Linked DNA regions of Homo sapiens: all the other regions are linked to region 2. Evidence: promoter capture Hi-C in 16 types of primary human blood cells and fetal thymus (Javierre and others, 2016). All regions are on one chromosome and are shown on one strand. The core of a region is centred on a gene start or on the middle of the fragment in contact, and the rest is flanking DNA. Distances in the headings are between cores, read along the strand shown. Region 1 has its middle 52 kb from the start of FAR2. Region 2 holds the start of CAPRIN2 (caprin family member 2). Region 3 has its middle 4.0 kb from the start of DNM1L. Region 4 has its middle 76 kb from the start of FAR2. Region 5 has its middle 33 kb from the start of FAR2. Region 6 overlaps YARS2 (tyrosyl-tRNA synthetase 2). Region 7 overlaps FAR2 (fatty acyl-CoA reductase 2).

What was found. The method cuts DNA at HindIII sites, captures the fragments that hold promoters and counts their contacts. A CHiCAGO score of 5 or more calls a contact.
Region 1: a contact is called between a fragment that was not itself captured here and the fragment with the promoter of CAPRIN2 in region 2, in 2 of 17 cell types (non-activated CD4 T cells and total CD4 T cells). The highest score is 6.9, in non-activated CD4 T cells.
Region 3: a contact is called between a fragment that was not itself captured here and the fragment with the promoter of CAPRIN2 in region 2, in 3 of 17 cell types (non-activated CD4 T cells, naive B cells and total B cells). The highest score is 9.0, in non-activated CD4 T cells.
Region 4: a fragment that was not itself captured here is called in contact with the fragment with the promoter of CAPRIN2 in region 2 in 8 of 17 cell types (monocytes, total CD4 T cells, activated CD4 T cells and 5 more); the score reaches 10.9 in monocytes.
Region 5: a fragment that was not itself captured here is called in contact with the fragment with the promoter of CAPRIN2 in region 2 in 1 of 17 cell types (neutrophils); the score reaches 5.3 in neutrophils.
Region 6: a contact is called between a fragment that was not itself captured here and the fragment with the promoter of CAPRIN2 in region 2, in 6 of 17 cell types (activated CD4 T cells, naive CD8 T cells, total CD4 T cells and 3 more). The highest score is 9.0, in activated CD4 T cells.
Region 7: a contact is called between a fragment that was not itself captured here and the fragment with the promoter of CAPRIN2 in region 2, in 1 of 17 cell types (erythroblasts). The highest score is 8.6, in erythroblasts.

What each region holds. Positions count from the first base shown.
Region 1 is chr12:29,095,656-29,099,176 of GRCh38, reverse strand. No RefSeq gene overlaps it. Among named protein-coding and RNA genes, the nearest start is that of FAR2, 52 kb to the left of the region's middle. The HindIII fragment of the contact is 8,335 bases long and covers 1-3,521 here.
Region 2 is chr12:30,753,433-30,756,612 of GRCh38, reverse strand. It overlaps CAPRIN2 (caprin family member 2), which reads left to right and starts at 1,662. Exons shown (of 19, transcript NM_001385503.1): 1 at 1,662-1,862; 2 at 3,054-3,180. The coding sequence starts at 3,093. It overlaps LOC645485 (a long non-coding RNA gene), which reads right to left and starts at 1,539. Exons shown (of 2, transcript NR_135046.1): 1 at 1,342-1,539. RefSeq lists silencers at 134-337, 1,429-2,108 and enhancers at 2,036-2,205, 2,209-2,288. The HindIII fragment of the contact is 2,894 bases long and covers 1-2,645 here.
Region 3 is chr12:32,673,490-32,677,054 of GRCh38, reverse strand. No RefSeq gene overlaps it. Among named protein-coding and RNA genes, the nearest start is that of DNM1L, 4.0 kb to the left of the region's middle. RefSeq lists an enhancer at 1,662-2,861. The HindIII fragment of the contact is 2,972 bases long and covers 1-2,759 here.
Region 4 is chr12:29,071,402-29,074,613 of GRCh38, reverse strand. No RefSeq gene overlaps it. Among named protein-coding and RNA genes, the nearest start is that of FAR2, 76 kb to the left of the region's middle. The HindIII fragment of the contact is 1,166 bases long and covers 742-1,907 here.
Region 5 is chr12:29,115,004-29,118,362 of GRCh38, reverse strand. No RefSeq gene overlaps it. Among named protein-coding and RNA genes, the nearest start is that of FAR2, 33 kb to the left of the region's middle. The HindIII fragment of the contact is 2,836 bases long and covers 201-3,036 here.
Region 6 is chr12:32,745,927-32,749,294 of GRCh38, reverse strand. It overlaps YARS2 (tyrosyl-tRNA synthetase 2), which reads left to right. Exons shown (of 5, transcript NM_001040436.3): 5 at 1,932-2,751. The coding sequence ends at 2,091. Among named protein-coding and RNA genes, the nearest start is that of YARS2, 8.3 kb to the left of the region's middle. The HindIII fragment of the contact is 1,542 bases long and covers 761-2,302 here.
Region 7 is chr12:29,153,085-29,156,270 of GRCh38, reverse strand. The region is part of intron 1 of FAR2 (fatty acyl-CoA reductase 2); the gene reads right to left. Among named protein-coding and RNA genes, the nearest start is that of FAR2, 5.4 kb to the right of the region's middle. The HindIII fragment of the contact is 611 bases long and covers 1,317-1,927 here.

The DNA of each region.
Region 1 (3,521 bases), core at 619-3,118, 1.7 Mb after region 2:
TCTCCTGCCTCAGCCTCCCGAGTAGCTGGGACTACCGGTGCCCACCACCACGCCCAGCTAATTGTTTTTGTATTTTTAGTAGAGATGGGGTTTCACTGTGTTAGCCAGGATGGTCTCGATCTCCTAACCTCGTGATCCGCCCACCTCGGCCTTCCAAAGTGCTGGGAGCTGTTGATATTTACATAGTTATCTTGTATCTGCCATCTTATTGTATTGTCTTGTTAGTGCTGATAGATTTTTAATAATGTTTCCTGGATTTTTTTAAAAATGTAGATTCTATTTTTATTCAGGTATGATGAAGCCACAGATTGGCGGACAATTGCTATTTAAAAGTTTATTTCTGCTCGTGCCCAAGAGGAGGGGTCACACTGCACAGCTGCGGGAGAGAACACCGAGGTTGGTCACAGGCAGAGGACAGGGGAACTGTGGTTTTCGAGGGAAGGAATGGATGAGGCAGGGTAAGGCGGCTAAGCAGGTGGAGCACTAGCTAGTTGGAATAGCGTCAGCTGATTCCTGATTGTAGACTGCCCTCAGTTTTCTGATACATGACCTCAGGGTGGTTATTTTCCAACTTTTCCTGATCACAAATTATATAGTAATAAAAATCCTTTTATATATTTTTGCATGGGTATGTAATTCTGTAAGATACTTAGAAGTATAATTTCTGGATTAAAGAGTTTACATATTTTAAATATGTAATTTAATAAATTACAATTAAAATTTAATTTAATTCCCAAAAAGTGAAACATTTTAATGATCTCACCGATAGTATATGGAGAGGGTCCTTTTTCTCATACTCTCAATAATACAGGATTTTTTTTTGTTGTTGTTGTTGTTTCAAGGTATTATTTTATTAAATTTTTTAAAATTATACTTTAAGTTCTAAGGTACATGTGCACAACGTGCAGGTTCGTTACATAGGTATACATGTGCCATGTTGCTTTGCTGCACCCATTAACTCATCATTTACATTAGGTACTTCTCCTAATGCAATCCCTCCTCCTGTCCCCAACTCCATGACAGGCCCCCAGGTGTGATGTTCCCTGCCCTGTGTCCAAGTGTTCAAATTGTTCGGTTCCCACCTATGAGTGAGAACATGTGGTGTTTGGTTTTCTGTCCTTGTGATAGTTTGCTCGGAGTGATGGTTTCCAGCTTCATCCATGTCCCTGCAAAGGACATGAACTTATCCTTTTTTATGGCTGACTAGTATTCCATGGTGTATATATGCCACATTTTCTTAATCCAGTCTATCATTGATGGACATATATGTTGGTTCCAAGTTTTTGCTATTGTGAATAGTGCTGCAATAAACATACATGTGCATGTGTCTTTATAGTAGCATAATTTATAATCCTTTGGGTATATATATACCCAGTAATGGGATCGCTGGGTCAAATGGTATTTCTAGTTCTAGATCCTTGAAGAATCACCACGCTGTCTTCCACAATGGTTGAACTAGTTTACATTCCCACCAACAGTGTAAAAGTGTTCCTCTTTCTCCACATCCTCTCTAGCATCTGTTGATTCCTCATTTTTTAATGATGGCCATTCTAACTGGAGTGAGATGGTATCTCATTGTGGTTTTGATTTGTATTTCTCTGATGACCAGTGATGATGAGCATTTTTTCATGTGTCTGTTGGATGCATAAATGTCTTCTTTTGAGAAGTGTCTGTTCATATCCTTTGCCCACTTTTTGATAGGGTTGTTTTTTTTTTCTTGTAAATTAGTTTAAGTTCTTTGTAGATTCTGGATATTAGCCCTTTGTCAGATGGGTAGATTGCAAAAATTTTCTCCCATTCTATAGGTTGCCTGTTCACTATGATGGTCGTTTCTTTTGCTGTGCAGAAGCTCTTTAGTTTTATTAGATCCCATTTGTCTATTTTGGCTTTTGTTGCCATTGCTTTTGGTGTTTTAGTCATGAAGTCCTTGCCCATGCCTATGTCCTGAATGGTATTGCCTAGGCTTTCTTCTAGGGTTTTTATGGTTTTAGGTCAAACATTTAAGTCTTTAATCCATCTTGAATTAATTTTTGTATAAGGTGTAAGGAAGGGATCCAATTTCAGCTTTCTACATATAGCTAGCCAGTTTTCCCAGCACCATTTATTAAATAGGGAATCCTTTCCGCATTTCTTGTTTTTGTCAGGTTTGTCAAAGATCAGATGGTTGTAGACGTGTGGTGTTATTTCTGAGACCTGTGTTCTGTTCCATTGGTTTATCTCTCTGTTTTGGTACCAGTACGATGCTGTTTTGTTTACTGTAGCCTTGTGGTATAGTTTGAAGTCAGGTAGCATGATGTCTCCAGCTTTGCTCTTTTGGCTTAGGATTGCCTTGGCAATGTGGGCTCTTTTTTGGTTCCATATGAACTTTAAAGTAGTTTTTTCCAATTCTGTGAAGAAAGTCATTGGCAGCTTGATGGGGATGGCATTGAATGTATAAATTACCTTGGGCAGTGTGGCCATTTTCACGATATTGATTCTTCCTAACCGTGAGCATGGAATGTCCTTCCATTTGTTTGCATCCTCTTTGAGCAGTGGTTTGTAGTTCTCTTTAAAGAGATCATTCACATCCCTTGTAAGTTGGATTCCTAGGTATTTTATTCTCTTTGTAGCAATTATGAATGGGTGTTTACTCATGATTTGGCTCTCCATTTGTCTGTCATTGGTATATAGGTATACTTGTGATTTTTGCACATTGATTTTTTATCCTGAGACTTTGCTGAAGTTGCTTATCAGCTCAAGGAGATTTGGGGCTGAGATGATGGGGTTTTCTAAATATACAGTCATGTCATCTGCAAACAGGGACAGTTTGACTTCCTCTTTTCCTGATTGAATACCCTTTGTTTCTTTCTCTTGCCTGATTGCCCTGGCCAGAACTTCCACACTATGTTGAATAGGAGTGGTGAGAGTGGGCCTCCCAGTCTTGTGCCAGTTTTCAAAGGGAATGCTTGCAGTTTTTGCCCATTCAGTATGATATTGGCTGTGGGTTTGTCGTAAATAACTCTTATTATTTTGAGATACATTCCACCAATACCTAGTTTATTGAGAGTTTTTAGAATGAAGGGCTGTAGAATTTCGTCAAAGGCCTTTTCTGCATCTATTGAGATAATCATGTGGTTTTTGTCATTGGTTCTGTTTATGTGATGGATTATGTTTATTGATTTGCATAAGTTAAACCAGCCTTGCATCCCAGGGATGAAGCTGACTTGATCATGGTGGATAAGCGTTTTGATGTGCTGCTGGATTCGATTTGCCAGTATTTTATTGAGGATTTTTGCATCGATGTTCATCAGGGATATTGGTCTAAAATTCTCTTTTTTTGTTGTGTCTCTGCCAGGCTTTGGTATCAGGATGATGCTGGCCTGATAAAATGAGTTAGGGAGGATTTCCTCTTTTTCTATTGATTGGAAGAGTTTCAGAAGGAATGGTACCAGCTCCTCTTTGTAACTCTGGTAGAATTTGGCTGTGAATATTTCTGGTTCTGGACTTTTTTTAGTTGGTAGGCTATTAACTATTGCCTCAAT
Region 2 (3,180 bases), core at 413-2,912:
CTTTTTGCCTGACCGATTAGAAGGCAAACATTTCTTTCTTTCTTTCTTTTTTTGAGATAGAGTCTTGCTCTGTCACCCAGGCTGGAGTGCAGCGGCACAATCTCGGCTCACTGCAGCGTCCGTCTCCGGGTTTCAAGCGATTCTCCTGCCTTAGCCTCTGAGTAGCCATGATTACAGGCACATGCCGCCATGCTCGGCTAATTTTTGTATTTTTAGTAGAGATGGATATTCACCACGCTGGCCAGCCTGGCCTCGAACTCCCGACCTCAGGTGATCCACCCCGCCTCGGCCTCCCAAAGTGCTGGGATCACAGGCTTGAGCCACTGCGCCGGCAGGGGGCAAACATTTCATGATTAATCTGACTGAAATACCATTTTTAGGTTCATCATTAGCTCGGACTACAACTCAGGCTGTGCTGTAACTTTGTGTCAACTCATTGATCCAACAGTGTGTCCTTCACATTTTTTCTTATGGCCACTGTTTTTTGTGTTACCAAAGGTGAAGGCATAGCCTTCCTCTCCTCATGTTCAGCATCTTCTGCGTTTCTCTGTTTATAAACAATGAGAAAAAGGGAAAATCTAGTATTTCTCTGACCCTGAAGAACACATATGGGATTCAGAGATTCAAAGTTAAAATGCAACATTAGGGTACATTATGTCACCAGGGACCGAAAAGAACACGGATAATAGATGCCAAAAAAATGTATTAAGTAATGTTAAAATTAATTTGTGTGAAGTTGACCAAGGCTTTTAAAACTAGACCTTTGTTTCCTTGATTCTTCTTCTGAATTTTCTGTTCTTTTGCTAGTCTCAATATTTTTTATCAGAGCGTCAGGGACAATCAGGACCTAAAAAACTCCACTTGGTGTAATAAGTAAACACATGTTGGGGCAAAGTATTGCTGAGTGTGTGTGTGTGTTTCTTATTTGGTATCAGAAACACCTTCCTTTCCTCAATAAACTTTTACATATTTCCAGACTTTTCTCTTAATTTTATGTAACCTTACAAAGATTTTTTACAGCTTTCTCTGCGTGCCAGTCAATTAATGTGTGTCACATGAACAAATAATACGGCTTGAATAAACTCAATCCTATTATTGCAGGTTGCGAAGTCACCTACTCCGTTTTTATGGCGATGCTGATTTGGGGCATTCTGCTCTTACAGGCTGATTCCCCGGTAAGGAAACGGTGTTTTTTCCCCATCCTACTATGAAAGATGCTATCTGAGGGGCAAAGGCGCATCTGCATTTCACGACTACCCACTAGGCTACGACAGCCTCAAGCATGGCTTATCTGGTAGTTCCGCGAAGGGCTCGCTGCCCTCCTGGAGCTATTGGAGTCACCTGTTCAAGGTCGCGAAACCACCGGTGCCGCCGGCAATCAGCGAGGTCCAGCGGGGCTGCGCGGTTTCCGGCCTGCCGGCGTTCGGCGTCGCCTCGGCCCCACCTGGTGCCCCGCAATCTGCGCAAAGGCTGGGAGACCGCGCCCTCTCCCGACCTACCACCAGCCCAAGCTGGGCCCGGAACTAACACCCGACAAGCGCTGGCGGCCAGCTGCAGCCGGGAAGGAGCACCGGAAGGAGGCGGTGGCGGGGCGGCCGAGGGCGGAGCGGGCCGGGGCGGGGCGCGGCCTACAAAAGCCACGCGCGGCGCGGTGGGCGGGCCTGGGCGCGAGCGGCTGAGTCGGCTGGGTCTCTGGCGCCGCAGAGGCCGCGGGCGAGGACCGGGAGGGGAGAGGGAGGAGACAGGAGGAGGAGACGCGAGTGCGGGGTGGCGCCGGTCCACCTCCGCAGCGCTCCTGCCTCCCCCAGGCTTTGGAAGGCGGGCCCGGGCTGCGGCAGCGGCGGCCTCGGCTGCCTGGGGAGGTGAAGTCGGGCTGCGGCGGCCTCGGTCGGCGCGGCGGAGGGAGGCGGCTGACCCGGCGAGGGTGGGCAGGTCTGGGCGGCCGGCGCCGCTGCGAGGTGGAGGGGCGGCTTGGCATCCCCGGGGCGGGGCGGGGCTCCCGAGGGCCGCGGTCGGTGCGTTTTCCGCAGGTCAGCCTCCCCCGGGGCCTTGCAGAAGCGGCTTCTGCGTACCCGGGGCGGCTGTGGGAAGGGTGGGGGTCGGTGCCTGCAGGGCTCTCCGTGGCCGCTCGGGAGAGGTGCTCTTCGCTCAGGCTCCCCCGGAGACTTGAGGGGGTGCGCGCTGGCGTGCATGGGGCCTGTTCTGTCCTTGGTTTGGGGATGCTCCTAAGGGGGGAGAAAGGGATACCTCGGGTGCTTGGAGGTCGAGAGACGGATACGTAAGTGCGCAAGGGCCACTGATTAGGGCACGGGAAGGGCTCGCTAGAATGAGCTCTTAAACTGGTTGGGTGTAAGCGGTTTTGGGCTAGTCTAAACCAAACAACTGAGAATAAACGCGGGGTTCCTGCAGGTTGAGAGAGTACCTGTCTGCAAATGTCCAGTAGTGATGGATTGCCTTGTAGGCCCCAGAGCAATCGGGGAAGTTAGCATTCTTGTTCAAGAAGCTGCTGGTTCACTTAGAGCTATAAAAGAATGTTGTGAGTTTGGATTTTCTTCCAAACGTTCAGGATTGAGGTTAGGGCTGGTGGTGAGGGATCATGTAAAGAGGTTTGAGTGGCTCAGCCTTAGGTCCCGGTGTGGAAAGCTTATTCTTTTGGTGTCATCACGTGGCCATGGGAATTATTTAGAATGTGATCTGCCCTCATGAGAAGAAAGGAGCTCTGAAGCCGTTGCAGTTCTTCCTCCCTATGTGGAAAATCGAATTTCTGGAAACATCCTCCGTATTGGGAGATTTTGCCTATGTAAAGGCTATCCTTATTGGCTAGCGGCACTAATTACTTTAAAAGTAGGATGGAAGTACAAGTATCTCAAGCATCATTGGGTTTCGAGCTCACTTCTGTGGAAAAGAGTTTAAGGGAGTGGTCTAGACTTTCCAGGGAAGTTATTGCCTGGCTGTGTCCCTCTAGTCCTAATTTTATACTTAACTTTCCCCCACCTCCTTCAGCCTCATCTGTTTCAATGGTGCAACTCTTTTCATCCCCTTTTGGTTACCAGTCACCTTCAGGCCATTCAGAGGAGGAAAGAGAGGGGAATATGAAGTCAGCCAAGCCCCAAGTGAACCACAGTCAGCATGGGGAAAGCCAGCGGGCCTTGAGCCCCCTGCAGTCTACTCTGAGTTCTG
Region 3 (3,565 bases), core at 24-2,523, 1.9 Mb before region 2:
GTAGTGGAAGTTGTGCACTACGCAACTCCAGTGGGTGCCATTCACCTGCTTAGCTGTACACAATGGCTGCGGGGAACATGCTTGATTTGTTCAGCAGGACAAATGGCAGGTGCTTAATAAATATCTGTGAACAAATGGATGAAGTAAGCCAAGACCTAAAGATCCATTAGTGGTGTTTTGGCATCTTGACAGGTTTTGTGAACATCTCCTCTTTGATTATTTTCAAAAAAAAAATTTTTCAGAGATAAAATAAGACAAAAATTTCAGAACTCCAAAAAACAGTTTTATTCCAAGTCTCTTGACTTTCTACCAAAGATAATATTACATAATAGTCAGATATTACCCACTTTGCTTCTCACCCCTCTGTTGATGGAGCTTTTGTTTTCTTCTAAAGAAAACAGAAGGCCGGGCACGGTGGCTCATGCCTGTAATCCCAGTACTTCAGGAGGCCAAGGTGGGCATATCACCTGATGTCGGGAGTTCAAGACCAGCCTGACCAACATGGAGAAACCCCATCTCTACTAAAAATACAAAAATTAGCTGGGCGTGATGGTGCACGCCTGTAATCCCAGCTACTCGGGAGGCTGAGGCAGGAGAATTGCTTGAACCCGGGAGGCAGAGGTTGCGGTGAGCCGAGATTGCACCATTGCATTCCAGCCTTGGCAACAGGAGCAAAACTCCGTCTCAAAAAAAAAAAAAAAAAAAAAGAGCCAGGCCCGGTGGCTCACGCCTGTAATCCCAGCACTTTGGAAGGCCGAGGTGGGCGGGTCACCTGAGGTCAGGAGTTCAAGACCAGCCTGACAAACATGGTGAAACCCCATCTCTACTAAGAATACAAAAAAAAAATTAGCCTGGTGTGGCGCGTGCCTGTAATCCCAGCTACTCGGGAGGCTGAGGCAGGAGAATCGCTTGAACCCGGGAGGCAGAGGTTGCAGTGAGCCGAGATCGCGCCACTGCACTCCAGCCTGGGCGGCAAGAGCAAAACTCCAACTAAAAAAAAAAAAAAAGAAGAAAAAAAACCAATTTCGGCTTTCATGTTTTAAGTTCAGAACACTCTTGTTTGTGGGAAATCAATTTAACTAATAAGTGGCTAAATGGATTTCCCACAAAAAAGAGTCTTTGTGCATCTAAGAATAATGTGTTCTTCAGTGGCTTCCTGTGGGAATCACATTAAACCATTATCGGATATCAAAAGGCCTTTAAAAAAACCTCTTCTCGGCCAGGTGCGGTGCCTCACACCTGTAATCCCAGCACTTTGGGAGGCCGAAGTGGGTGGATCACGAGGTCAGGAGATGGAGACCATCCTGGCTAACACGGTGAAACCCCGTCTCTACTAAAAATACAAAAAATTAGCCAGGCGTGCTGGCACGCGCCTGTAGTCCTAGCTACTGGGGAGGCTGAGGCAGGAGAATTGTTTGAACCTGGGAGGCAGAGGTTGCAGCAAGCCAAGATCGCGCCACTGCACTACAGCCTGGGCAACAGAGTGAGACTCTATCTCAAAAAAAAAAAACAACAACAACAAAAAACACCTCTTCTCCTGCAACCATCCCTCTCTCACCATAGCTTTATGATTTAGGCAGGATAGCTAATTGTAAGGACAGAAATTTAATTCTGAGCTAACTTGCCTCAAAAATGACTGAATGTCTGGGCGCAGTGGCTCTAGCCTGTAATCCAAGCACTTTGGGAGGCCGAGATGGGTGGATCAGTTGGGGTCAGGAGTTCAAGACCAGCCTGGCCAACATGGTGAAACCTCGTCTCTACTAAAAACACAAAAATTAGCTGGGGGTGGTGGTGAGAGCCTGTAATCCCAGCCACTCGGGAGGCTGAGGCAGGAGAATTGCTTGAACCCGGGAGGCGGAAGTTTCAGTGAGCCAAAATCACGTCACCGCATTCCAGCCTGGGTGACACAGTGACACTCCACCTCAAAAAAAAAAATGACTGGAACTAGGAGCTCAGGCAGAATCAGAGCTCTACATCTTATCACTACATCGTCTATTTCATTCTCTCACGCAGTTTACTCCTGTGGAATGAGGTGAGTGTGCTGTGGGGGAGGGTGTAGGGGATCTCATTCAGCAAGCTGTCTCACAGCAGATGAGGCAGAGAGAACTGGGGAGGAACTGAAACCTAGGAACCTGGTTTCTGCCTTGCTTCTCTAGTATATTAGTTCCCTATTGCTGCCTTAACAAATTACCACAATTTTAGTGGCTTAAAACAACAAAAATGTGGCCAGGCGCAATGGCTCACTTCTGTAATCCCAGCACTTTGGGAGGCCGAGGCGGGCGGATCACGAGTTCAGGAGATTGAGACCATCCTGGCTAACATGGTGAAGCCCTGTCTCTAGTAAAAATACAAAAAATTAACCGGGCGTGGTGGCGGGTACCTGTAGTCCCAGCTACCCGGGAGGCCGAGGCAGGAGAATGGCGTGAACCTGGGAGGCAGAGCTTGCAGTGAGCCAAGATCACGCCACTGCACTCCAGCCTGGGCAACACAGTGAGACTCCATGTCAAAAAAAAAAAAAAAGTATTGTTTTACAGTTCTATAGTTCAGTAGTCTCACACAGGTCTCACTGGACTAAAATCAAGGTGTCACCAGGGCTGCAAACCCTCCTAAAGCCTCTAGCAGGGAATTCACCTCCTTGCCTTTGTTAGGGGCCCCCTGCATTCCTTGCTGGTTACCTCCTTCCAACCTCTTCAAAGCCAGCAATGTCGCATCTCTTTAACTCTTCTGCTGTCATCAGGCCTCTGACCCCCAGAAAAGCTTCTCTGTGTTTAAGGGCCCATCATTAGATTGGCCAACCTGGACAACCCAGGATAATATCCCTGTCTCAAGGCCTGTACCCTTAATCACATCTACAGAGTCTCTCCTGAGACATAAAGTTCACAGGCTCCAGGGATTAGGACATGGACTTATTGGAGGGGCCTACTGCACCTGGTTAAGGTGATTGGTCTAGGGATGGACCTGCAGGACCATTTAGAATCCTTCTCTGAGAATTTCCTAACCTGAATTTGAACAAAAATATTTTCTCTCTCTGGTTATAGAACTGTAAGCATGTGAGTCAATGTCTCCAAAGATCATGTTTCCTATCTCATGGAATAAATTGGTTTGCAAGAATAAACTTCTTTATTCACCTTGAAGAACTTCCCCAAATTCAGTAACTTACCCATATATATACATATATATATATATTTTTTTTTTTTTTTGAGACAGAGTCTTGCTCTATCACCCAGGCTGGAGTGCAGTGGTGCAATCTCAGCTCACTGCAAGCTCCGCCTCCTGGGTTCACGCCATTCTCCTACCTCAGCCTCCCGAATAACTGGGACTACAGGCGCCCACCGCCACACCCGGCTAATTTTTTGTATTTTTAGTAGCGATGGGGTTTCACCATGTTAGCCAGGATGGTCTTGATCTCCTGACCTCGTGATCTGCCCGCCTCAGCCTCCCAAAGTGCTGGGATTACAGGCATGAGCCACTGCGCCTGGCCAACTTTCCCATATTTTTAAATGTACATGTGCTGTACAGCACATAACATCAGAATTCTAATCCCCATAGTTAACCATATGAATTT
Region 4 (3,212 bases), core at 75-2,574, 1.7 Mb after region 2:
TGAGACAGAGTTTCGCTCTTGTCACCCAGGCTGGAGTGCAATGGCCTGATCTCGGCTCACCACAACCTCCACCTCCCGGGTTCAAGCGATTCTCCTGCCTCAGCCTCCCGAGTAGCTGGGATTACAGGCATGCGCCACCACAGCCGGCTAATTTTGTATTTTTAGTAGAGATGGGGTTTCACCATGTTGGTCGGGCTGGTCTTGAACTCCCGACCTCAGGTGATCCGCCCTCCTTGGCCTCCCAAAGTGCTGGGATTACAGGCATGAGCCACCATGCCCGGCCTGCCCACTGCCTTTTCTAAGATGCCACCTCTTTGTATTAGGTTGGTGCCATTACTTTTAATGGCAGAAACCGCGATTACTTTTGCACCAACATAATAATTATCGCAATTACTGCTCTCCTCCAGGACTGGCTGGCCTTGATGTTGTTTGACCATTTTTCTGCTGTGTTAGAATGCTAAAGAATAGATAGGAGAGAAATGGGAGAGGTATACAGTATAAATTGTCTCTTCCAAATCTGTTCTTGAGCAACTTTCAGAAAAATCACAAATGTGTCTCTGATAGTGGGTTCTTTATAACATGATAAAGTCTACACTTTTGTTCTTAAGAAGAATGATATACTTAACTACGTTCTTAAAAACAACAAAAGGTTCTCATTTTTCTGGTATGTTAGCAGTGATGGCAGGAGGGTGGAGTCCTGGGGACCAATTCAGCAGTACAGCCAAGGGAAAAAATAAAGCTTCAGTCAGTCTTTCAGCAGGCCAGGGAAAATTATTGCTAGAGGACACCTAGTGGCGCTTTGTAGTAATTCACTTACACTAACAAATTGTACATTTGAATATTAAGAGCACTCACTATACCAGGAACTTGTCAACAAATATAACACAACCATGATAAAACAGCAAAGTACAAACCAAGCCTGGTGTTAAATCTAGTTGTATTGGTTGGTATGGGCTAACTGCTGTAACAAACAACCTCCAAACTTAAGGTGCTTAACTTAATAGAGTTTATTTTGTGTCCTCACACAGTACGGATGCTCAGCTGGTGACCTTCCATACAATAACACAGAAAAAACACTTGATCGCATGGAAAACAATGTACCTTATACTTGTATAGGAATATTTAACATCATAAATACATCACTTCTCAAAACAGAACAAATAAAACAAAATACAACATTGTATGTAGAAATGGGCATGGAAAATTGGCAAGACTCATTGAACTACATTTAAGAGCTATGTAATTCACTATACATAAATTTTACCTCAATTTAAAAATGAATTTTTTTTTCCAAAAGAACATCCAGTAGAAAGCTGACAAAAAATAGCAATAAAGGTTAAGGGTAGGGGACACACCATATGTTAAAACTCATGAAATCCCAATAATTAAAAGAGAGTGGTACTATAATTTTAAAAAATTACTAAAAAGGAGAGAGATTGGTATGGGCATGAGAGTAGGCAGGTTAACGAGCTAGAACAGAAAACCCAGATATGCCCAAGTGCATACAGAAATGTAATAAAAAATAAAGTAGTCATCAGAAATCCAGTCACCTATTCAATGAATGTATTTGGGATAACTGTAAATATCTGTATTCTGCTTGGAGAAAGGAAGAAAAGAAGGAAAGAGAAACAAAAGTTATTCATGCTTGAGAAAAATCCCCTCAAGCATTGTATTAGTCAGGGTTCTTCAGAGAACAGAACCAATAGGATGTGTGTGCATATATGTAAGGAATTTATTATGAGGAGCAGCTCATGAAATTATGGAGGCTAAGTCCCAAGGTCTGCAGGGTGACTCAGGAAGCTGGAGACCTAGGAGAGCTAATGATACAATTTCAGTGTTAAGGCTGGCAGGCTAGACACCCAGGAAGAGCTGATTTTTCAGTTCAACTCTGAAAGCAGGAAAAAGCTTACATCCCAGTTTAAGGCAGTCAGGCAGAAAGAATGCTCTCTTATTGGGGGCGGGTCAGCCTTTTCTTCTATGCAGGCCTTCAGTTGATGGGATAAGGTCTTCCCTCATTAGGGAGTATACTCTGCTATACTCAGTCTACCGATTAATCTCATGCAAACACCTTCACAGATACACCCAGAATAGTGTTTAACTAAATATCCAGGCATCCTATGGCCCACTGAAGTTGACACATAAAATTAACCATCACAGTCATCATAAAAGATTTACATTCTCTGACATTTTATTCTCTTTCCTGAAATCTTGCTGTCACAAAGGATCATAATATTTGACCTGAAAAGGATGATAGAAGAGATATTTATTGCAGAATTTTGCAGCTATATTTTTAACATACACATGGAATTTCTCCTCTACTTCTTGCTGAATACAGGTAAGCCTCAAATCTATGACATAATATTTTTTAAATGAAAAAACATAGAGAAACTCTTGCTCTTTTCATCTGACAGAAAGGCATCAAATCATGTCACCTCTGGTTGCCCACTAAATTAAAAAGACCACTTGCCATTGATTGTTGCATTTTAGGATCCTATCTATTCCTGTGTTAGCACACTCCTGACCAAAAGGACACACACTGTTCCTCATTCTCTTTTTTCTATAATGGGTTTGCATTTGATCTATGCTTTGGGTGATTAATGGTGGTTAGTTAACTTTGATATTTAGCTTGATATTGATATTATGTATTGATATTATATCAATATCTGATATTGAGCTTACTCTGATATTTCAGTGAGTGCAACAGAAATCACTCCAAGGTAGGTGAAAGTATGGAATCATAAATATATTCTTGAGCTTAATATGACATTCATGTTTGAATCCTGCATGGTCCAAAATTGTCCAAATGATCTCACAATTGGAAAGGCTCTTCAAGAGGTAGAATTTGAACAGAAGGCTTTCTGAGTATGTCAACCAGTGTCACTTTTAAACCTAAGGGCACCTTTCTGCAGAGCATTGTAGTCCTGGGGAAAGGAAGAACTTAACTGCTAACAGGGATCACCTCGGCATGGTTTAGCTAATTGATATCAATGGCTCACATGATTCACTGATTTTACATCTGCTTTTTTCCTTTGAAGCAATTCAAAACCATATTATTTGGTGTCTTAATTGAATCAAGCTAAAAGAAAGTCTTTCTGATTTTTACAGAAAAAAATCAATAACCAAAGATAACTGCTGAGTTAAGGCAGCATTCCATCCTCCATGTCTCATAATGAGAATACATTAGCAAATAAAATGATCAAGAATGAGCCTTT
Region 5 (3,359 bases), core at 369-2,868, 1.6 Mb after region 2:
AAAAGCCCCGAGTGTTTTTAAACAAGAAGTCACATGTCCTACAAGGACCTTCTGTTAACCCTAAATTGATAGGCTCTAAATTGGTTAGAATTAAGTTATCTTCAAATACAGCACTAAATCTTTGTTCTAGAGCAATTCTGTGCCCTCATTCTTGAAGAAATTTGAGCGTAGTGGGAGGAAAAGATGTCAAAAATCAAGCTTTTACCACTGTTAGGCTGAGTGAATTCTCCCTGGGAGATTATAGAAGACAAGTGTCTAGAATCAAAAAATAAATGTGAAGTGCAAAACAAAACACCACATTATCTCAGTTATTTCACCTTTAATTTAAACTTCATAATTTATGAAAATGTGTAAAAAAAAGTTTTCAAATTTAATATGATCTTGATGCAATATTATAAGAGAAGTAAAAAAATTCTAATTTATCTTTTTCTCTTTCCCTCTTGCTTGCTTGCTTTTAACCCTTGCTCTCATTATCTCTCTTTTCTCATCTCTAAAAATGGGAATGATAATGCTAACTTTCTAAACTTGCAATGAATATGAAATGACAAAAATGTAAGTAACAGTGAATAGCATAGTGGATAAAGTATAGTCATGTCTCAATGGACTTTTTCCTTTTTCTTTCTGATCAAACAAAAATTGTATCAAATAAATTGTGTATACATTAATTAGAAGAAATAATTTAGAATCAGAAACCACATGGCTTATAAAAAGAATCAAAGAGGATGTATTATCAAACACAAAACTAGTCTATAGTAATAAAACACAATAAACACACTGCAATTAATTTTGCTAATACAGTCATGTGTCACTTAATGATGGGAATATATTCTGAGAAATGTGTTTTTATGCATTTTTTTGTGTGTGTATGTGAACATCACGGAGTGTACTTACACAAACCTAGATGGAATAGCCTACTATACACCTAGGCTATATGGTATAGCCTACTATACACCTAGGCTATATGGTATAGCCTATTGCTCTTATGTTATAAACCTATAAAGCAGGTTACTGTACTGAATACTGTAGGCAATTATATCACAATGGTAAGTATTTGAATGTCTAAACATAGAAAAAGTGCGGTAAAAATGTGATATTTTAATCTTATGGGACCACCATCATATGTGCAGTATGTTGTTGATTGAAATGTCATGTGGTACATAACTGTAGTTGTTTCTTCACTTTGAGATATGTTCTGTAACTGATGATTGCTGTCTTTATTAGAAACTATACCAGCCCGGAATGATATTTATCTCCCTACAGGTAATCTTAAGAAGCAAAGATTCAGTGGAGGCACAACTTGTTTTTTGTCCAGGTTCACCAAATCCAGAATGTATGTGTTGGCAGTCCTGAGTATCACTGTTAAATAAACCAAATTGAGAAAGCCTAACTATAGGGTCAATTGAACAATTTTCTAGTCTAGGTGTATAGTCGGCAATCAGCTAACTTTAGCTATGATGTGTGTCTGAAACAACACAGTACCTCAGACTCCTCTAAAGGGGGAAATGGGCCAATACAAGTCAATAAAAAAGCCAACTCCTGTTTTATTTTTAATAGATCCTTACATAATGTTTACTTTGTCCCTGCCTCTAAAGACATTATATATATTAATTTATTTAATCCTCGTAACAATGCTATACAGAAGGTACTGTTGTGGCATGCCAGGTCTCACCAACGCAGGCCTCCATAACAACTGTTTCAGTACTGAGTGGTTAAGTTAAATATTAAAAGCCAGTGCCCTTATACAAAGGCTGAGGTGTAACAAAAGCCCACCAAGAATTTTGCCTAGGCTGTTTCCTGGGAAGGAATTATTAACAGGACCCATGTAGGATTAAACAAGTTTTATTGTGGGTCTGTAGAAAGTCCCTAGGCCTCTACAAACAAGTTTATTGGGGGTCTGAAGGAACTCCCCAAACCTCCGTGATTTGGAGACAATCATACAAGGAGGCAAGATAAGGGTAATCACCCCAGCATCTGAACTCATTTTAATTAAGTAAATTTACTGAGGCTCCAGAGGAAGCTCTTTAGGACTGAGACCTTAGTTATAGATTAAAAGAAGTTAATCACCCATGTCTTTTGATGAATGCACACTTACACATAGACTTAGAAAGTATATAAGCTCTGAAAAACTTTGTAATTTTGAGTTGGTCTGATGATAATTTCCAGGCCTTCTCCCTGTAACTGGTTGGAGAAATAAAAACTCTCTTCCTCCGCAGTTCATCTGCATCTCATCATTGGGCCACAAGAAATAGCAGCCTGACTCTCATTTTGGTCTGGGAAAACTATGATTATCCTGATTTTGTAGGTTACAAAAATGAGGCACAGAGAAGTGACTTAAGTCATTGTTGGATGAATTTTGTCTGTGCTGGTTTCTGACGCTAACCTGCCCCTCCGACTTTGGCCTTCTGACTTCTCCTGTAAAATGGTGCTTACATAACCTGTAGTCTTTCAGGGTGAAAGGAAGAGACCTGCCCAAGCTATATGAAATGGTGGGGATTTATGAGAATTACCAAGAAGTGAGAAACCACCAAAATCTATTTTAGCACTATGGAGTTAGGCTGGGTCCTGAGGCTTCCGAGGCCGGTGGGTACCTACAGCAGGCATCAGGGAGAACTGAATCAATAGCTCATTGCTAATCAAAATACAATAGCTCCCTAAGTGCCCTAGTTATTTTATTGTTTCATAAGAATGGTTAATGTCATTAATCCCTGTTGCCTTTTTTGTGTGCAATTTAATTCCAGGACATCTGACTAGGGGCATTTTGTCACTGTCTCACATTAAAAAGAACTTTCAGGGAGGAGTTTGGTACCAAAGTACCTCTCTGATAATTGACCTCTCTCACCAGTATCCACAGTTGTTTCAGCTTTGGGCACCAAAACCGGGTTCCTTCAGTCATGATGGAAGTGGCAGTATCACATTATCTAAGGCTTTGCAACTTTACAAAGACTCACCTAGGGCAACTGTTATCCAAAGGGAGCCCTGGCGCTAGTAGACACTCGGAGGTTTACAGTCTCTTGTACCATGCAGGTTTCCAAAGCTTCACATTGATCTCATTGCCCAACCTGACTCCTTCGAGATGAAAGACTGAGTTTGCTGCCTGGCCATATTGAGAGGAGAAGCAGAGGGGCTTCTCCGTCCGGTGGGGACTTGGAGAACTTTTCTGTCTAGCTAAAGGTTTGTAAACGCACCAATCAGCACTCTGTAAAAACGGACCAATCAGCACTCTGTAAAATGGACCAATCAGCAAGATGTGGGTGGGGCCAAATAAGGGAATAAAAGCTGGCCACTGGAGCCAGCAGCTGCAACCCACTGGGGTCCCGTTCCACACACTCTGGGAGCTTTGTTCTTTCACTCTTCGCAAT
Region 6 (3,368 bases), core at 282-2,781, 2.0 Mb before region 2:
GAGGGATGCAGAAACAGAGGCCCTATGTAACAGATTAACACAGCCCCTCTCATAGTCTGTATCCTTTTTATATTCGGGGATGGGAAAGGTTACCTAACCTATCTATAGTATTAACTGAATTTCTGAAAATGAAATGAGCATATAATGGCCAAAACCGCAAGTACTTTTGCACTAACCTACTAACGTCATAAGACTATTATTGTAAACTATATAATAATCCCCTTGAGAATTGCATTTTCTATTCAGGAATTGAGTAGAATATTTTAATTAATCAGTTATGAGGTATTAAGGAGTAAATAAGGTTTTTCACAAAAAATAATTCAGCATATAATTGATGCTTATCCATTTTTAAATGAACAGTGAGGTGGAAGGAAAAGTGTTGGGTAGCCAGAAGACCCCCAGGTGCCTCTTTTGCAGGAGTTCACACAGAAGTCAAATGGTTATCGGCCATATCATGGCCATGATTATGAATGACATTTGTTATAGTTGTTCTCTTTCAACTGTCTTGGATTGTTTGCCTGTGTCCTAAAGAGTCCTAGACTATTCTGCCTGGAAAAAGCACCCATTGTCTCCCTTTGCATCACCTGCCACTCCACCTTAGTGATTCCCTCATCTGCTGGTTTAACACACAGTGAATTTGAGGCTGGTGTCATATACTTCCCTGTAGTATGTCAGCGAGACAAATAATTTTCCTCACTATGGAAGCAGATTTCGTTTTCTTCTGAACTTTACTATAGTGTGTTCGCTAATACTGGAAGCTTTACCACTACTAAAAATGACACCACATCTGATTTAGCCAGGGCTCTAAGTAATACTGATTTTTTTTTTTAATATTATATAAGCTAAATAGGTTTGGTGCATTTAAATTAAACATAGAACATGATCTGGAAACTAGCAGACAGCGTAAAATAATACTTCCTAAAAGAAAGGAATCTGGCCTTAAGTAGAAAATATTTTACTGATGAGTTTTATAAAACCATGTCCATGGCCAGGTATGGTGGCTCACATTTGTAATCCCAGCACTTCGGGAGGCTGAGGGCGGGAGGATTGCTTGGGGCCAGGAGTTCAAGATCTGTGTGGGCAAGGACGTAGTGAGACTCCGTCTCTACCCAAAAATAAAGGTATAAAAATATCTTTAAAACCATGTCCAGTAGTGGTTTCTTAATTTTATTTGGTAACATTCAGATGAGAGAAAACCACCATTTTTCTTTCTTAAGGACTTCCAAGATCTAGCCACGCTGTAGCCCTGTCTTCTCAGATCTCACCTCTTTCTAGCTGCTCCCATGTTTCCTGCCCTGATTGTCAAGGTAGCTTCACTCCCAGTTTAAGTATCTCTTTTTTCAGTGAAATGTTCAGCCCTCACCTACCCAGTGTGCTCCTAGAACAACTTCTCCTAGGTCTTTCTTTTTTTTTCTTGAGACGGAGTCTTTAAAAGAGCAGATTGCAAGGCGTAAATTCCGGCCAGACACAGTGGTTCACACCTGTAATCCCAGCACTTTGGGAGGCCAAGGCAGGTGGATCACTTGAGGTTGGGAGTTTGAGACCAGCCTGGCTAACATGGCGAAACCCATCTCTACTAAAAATACAAAATTAGCCAGGTGTGGTGGCATGCACCTGTAATCGCAGCTACTCTGGAGGCTGAGGCAGGAGAATCACTTAGAACACAGGAGGCGGAGGTTGCAGTGAGCTGAGATCATGCCAGCCTGGGCTACAGAGCAAGAATGTGTTTCAAAAACAAACAACAAAAAACAAAGAGCAGTAAAGAGAGGCAGAATCTATTAATAATAGAGCAAACATGAAGGTAACAGTCCAGTGCCAAATGAAATCTTCTCAATTGGAGAGCCTCTGAAATCTAAGTGAAACAGTCTTTTTTGGGGGACAGATCAACAGTGATTGGATCTCTCTACTTACTAAACGTTTCTATTTTTTAGGTATCGAATGATAACAGAAGGCGGAGTCAGCATAAATCACCAACAAGTAACAAATCCTGAGAGTGTTTTAATTGTTGGACAACATATTCTCAAGAATGGACTTTCCTTACTTAAAATAGGAAAAAGAAATTTCTACATTATAAAATGGCTTCAGTTGTGATGAAAAGTCCTTCTGGTTGTCCAAATAAACTTACCCATCATTCATTCTCAAGACCTCTGAAGGGTTGGCTCCAGAACTTAGACCTTTGCTTATGCAAATCAGAAAAACAGAATGGACTAGGACTCAGTGTGAGTAACTTCATTATTTTTATGGGCCGGTTAATAAATATTTGTTTAATAATGGGATGTTTTATTTTCTGATGTACAAAGCTTGATTACCATAGAAAACCATGATTTTCAGGGTTAATCTCTTTTTAAAATTATACTTCAGAAGAGAAAGAAATGCTGCTTTCCTATCTTACCCTTCCTGCTCTCCTTTTTGTAGTGATGAGGAACAATGAAAAAGAGGTAGTGTAAGGAATTGTGAGGCTGGGCATGGTGGCTCACACCTGTAATCCCAGCACTTCGGGAGGCCAAGGTGGGCAAATCGCTTGAGGCCAGGAGTTTGAGACCAGCCTGGCCAACAGGGCGAAACCCCGTCTCTACTGAAAATATAAAAATTAGCCAGATGTGGTTGCAGGCACCTGTAACCCCAGCTACTCAAGAGGCTGAGCTGCGAGAATCACTTGAACCCAGGAGATGGAGGTTGCAGTGAGCTGAGATCACGCCACTGCACTCCAGCCTGGGAGACAGCATGAGTAGTGAGTGAAACTCTGTCTCAAAAAAAAAAAAAAAAAAAAGGAATTGTAGCTGCTTTTCTATCAGGTATGGAGCACCGATGTCACTAATGTTATATAGTTGTTTATAAAATCATCAGGGCCTCTAGTGTCCACATTAGAAATGGGAAAACTAGTATTAGAAACTTTGAATAGAAATTTGATTTTTTTGTAGTTCAGAGAGCAAATGTAGTTCTTAAAAAGGAGAAAAAGTTAGATGAGGCCATGGTTGCTTTGAGAAATTACAGTAAGTAGTTTCTTTACAAATAATAGTACAAAAATCAGTACGTGACTTTTCAGAAAGTTTCTAATTCAGTTTTCTGGTTCCTTGCCTGTGTTCCAGTATAATTCTGTTCACATTAAGCCTTGTTGTCAGTGGATTCCTAAGGTAGCAATGTTTTATAAATTTAGAAACTTAAATTGGTTTTAAGTTTCAGCTTTTCCCCCCAAGCAGATTGCAACTTGAGGTAAATTAAAAAGTTAACCCCCCAAAAATAAAGCCAATTATACCAAATATGCAATCATATGAGAATATCAAAAAGTATCCAGGTAAGGAAAGTTTTCAGGTCAAACTTAAAGGATTTGGAATCAAGACTGAGTTCAGCTCTTCAAACATGAGGCA
Region 7 (3,186 bases), core at 373-2,872, 1.6 Mb after region 2:
CATCACTTATCTTTTTTTTGGTGAGACATTTGAAATTTACTTAGTTATTTTTAAATGTACATTATCATTGACTATAGTCATTCCGCTGTGCAGTAGATCTCAAAACGAATGCCTCCTGCCTAACTGAAAATTTGAACCCTTTGACCAGTAACTTCCCCCCACCTCCCCACACCCTGCACCCCTACCACTTTTTGCCTTCAACCTCTAGTAACCACCATTCTTCTCTCTACTTTTATTTATGAGTTCAATATGTTTAGATTCCACCTAAAAATGAGATGATGCAGTATTTCTCTTTCTGTGCCTGAATGCCAATAATGTTTGAGGACCTACTAGGAAGTCAATTTAACTATTTTATTTCTATCCCCTCATAAATTAAATAAATGAAAAACAAAACAATTAAGATTACCTATGGCAGGTGAGTTTCATAGCCTTAGAGCAGGGGTCAACAAACATTTTCTGTAAAGGACCACAAGGTAAATATATTAGGATTTAAAGGTCATAATAATTGATTGGTTAGGGCACTAAAGCAGTCATAGCCAATAGGGATGACTAGACGAATGATACAAGCTGTTTTCTGATAAAACTTTATTTATAGACACTGAAGGTTAAATTTCATATACGTTAAATTTCCTATAATTTTTCCCATGTCACAGAATATTATTCTTTTGATTTTTTCTAAGTTTTAAAAATATAAGAACCATTCTTAGTTCAAAGAATAAACAAAAAGGCAGGGGCCAGATTTCAGCCTTGGGCCAAAGCTGCTGACCCCTGGGCTGGAACACAGAGCTGATGAAGCCAAGGAAGAATTCTACAGCTGTGTGAACCTGTTTCTTCCATTATGCTCTGCTGCACTGTTCTTTGGCCATAAGTTGCATTTCTGCTTCCAGCCTACCACCATGCAAATGCATGGGGATCCAGGAAGTGGATATATGAGACTCAAAAACCAATGTTCCTACAGATGCCCTATGTAGTCACACTGTATTGCCCTGCAGGGGATGGCTTACAAAGATCAGATAAGGCCCAGGCCTACCACGGGACCTAAGAGGCCCTGGGGAGTCTTCCCCATTGTTTATGCCTCAGGTCACATGTATGAAACAGAGACTTCACAAAATGTATCTTGATGAGGTCCTGCAGAACCTTGCCAAAGAAGTAGAAATGAAAAACAATTTTGCTTTTAATCAGACTGCAGATCCTGTTTCTGAATATCATCCACAGAGCAGGGTTGTTTTCATCATCAACTTAATGCCTATTAACAGAGTCAATTCCAGTCTCCCGCTTTCCACCAACTAAGTAGGATTAAAGAGATGAGAGAAGCTTATGGTTAATAGAGAACTGTAGATGTTAAAAGGTTTAATCTATTAATATAGGACAGCATTTCCCAAAGCGTGTTATGCTGAATGCTGGCTCTCTTAGATGTTCTGCTGGAAAAGCATTTCAACGTCAAGTTTAGGAAATGTAGCATAAAAGATCTCTCTTTTCTTGATTATTAACATGCATTAGGACATGCATGCTCTGAGGATTCCTGCAATAAAACTGGTTAAGTAGGGGCCCAGTGCGGTGGCTCACGCCTGTAATCCCAGCACTTTGAGGCAGGCGGATCACAAGGTCAGGAGATCGAGACCATCCTGGCTAACACGGTGAAACCCCGTCTCTACTAAAAATACAAAAATTAGCCAGGCGTGGTGGTGGGCGCCTATAGTCCCAGCTACTCAGGAGGCTGAGGCAGGAGGATGGCATGAACCTGGGAGGCGGAGCTTGCAGTGAGCTGAGATCACACCACTGCACTCCAGCCTGGGCAAGAGAGAGAGACTCTGTCTCAAAAAACAAAACAAAACAAAACAAAACAAAAAAAAAAACAAAAACAAAACCACAACTGGTTAAGTAGGTTAAATCAAGAGTTTCTCAAAGTCATATCATCAGGGAAGCTTTTCTTCCTTTACTTAACTGTTAATATCCCAAGAAAATAATAATTCATAGACTGCAGTTTAGGAAAAACTGCTATAGACAAGGCAGAGGAATGACAGGGTTTTAAGCAGGGGAGTAAATTATGTTTTGGAATAATTATTTCGGAGAGGATCAGATCTTTCTTCCCTAATTTTTCTCATTTTAGGAAATTACACCATATTCCATCTATGTGCTCAAGTCAGAAAGACAGGAGCTATATCTGTCATGCTGATAACTTTTTAAAAAATTATAAAATGCAAGCATGATTTTAAAAATCATTCAAACAGTAGAGAGGATAGTATGAAAAGCAAAAATCTCCTCCCTCCTTTCTCTCACCCCATCCCAGCAGCCAGTATACTTTTCCAGAGGTAATAACCAGGGCGATCAGTTTTTGTTTTATTTTTCAGTTCTTCTTACGGCATCTCTAAATCATATGCATCTGAGCCTACTGTTTTGGATTATAAGCATTTAGCAGTATCTATTAAATGAATTCATTCCCACTCTTCTTTCTGCCTCTCCCACCTCCCATATCCAATCTATCACCAAGACATGTCAATCCAACTCTCAAAACACACCTCAAGTCTGTGCACTTCTCTCCCTCCTCCCTGACAGTACTCTCACCTGCGCTCTGTCCTCCCTGGTCTTCCTACCTCCAATCCTTTATCCCTCCAGTTCACTCTCCTTATTGTCTACATAAAGAGTTCCTCAAAATAGAAATTAGAACAGTCTCTGGCTTAAAAGTCTTCAATGGCAACCCACTCAAATTAAATTCAAGATCTTTATCAACACCTGTGAATTTGGGCATGACCAGCCACCTGCTCCCCTCTCCAACTGGTGTCCTGCCTCTCAGCAGCGCCCTCACCTAAGTGCAGTCACAAGGCCTGCCTTCTCTCTGTCCCCTGAATGCTGCAAGCGTTTTCTCTTAAGACCTTCCCATTTGCAATTTCCTGTGCCCAGATTGCTTTTTCTCTTTGTTGATTTTTTTTTTAGTCAAGTTAACCCCTATGCTTCTTTCCAATAGCAATTGAAATCTTTCTTTGTCAAAGAGCAAGCCTTCTCAGAACACCAAAACGGAGTCAGTGCCCCTGATTTTTTTCTTACAGCATTCTGTTCTTCTCCACGCTACTTCCCACAATGTATTCCTACATGTTTATTTTGTAAATGTCTGTAGGTTCCAAAAAAATAGGGAACACATCTGCTTTGTTCAACACCAAATGTGGAAAAGCTGGCACAGTGTCTGGT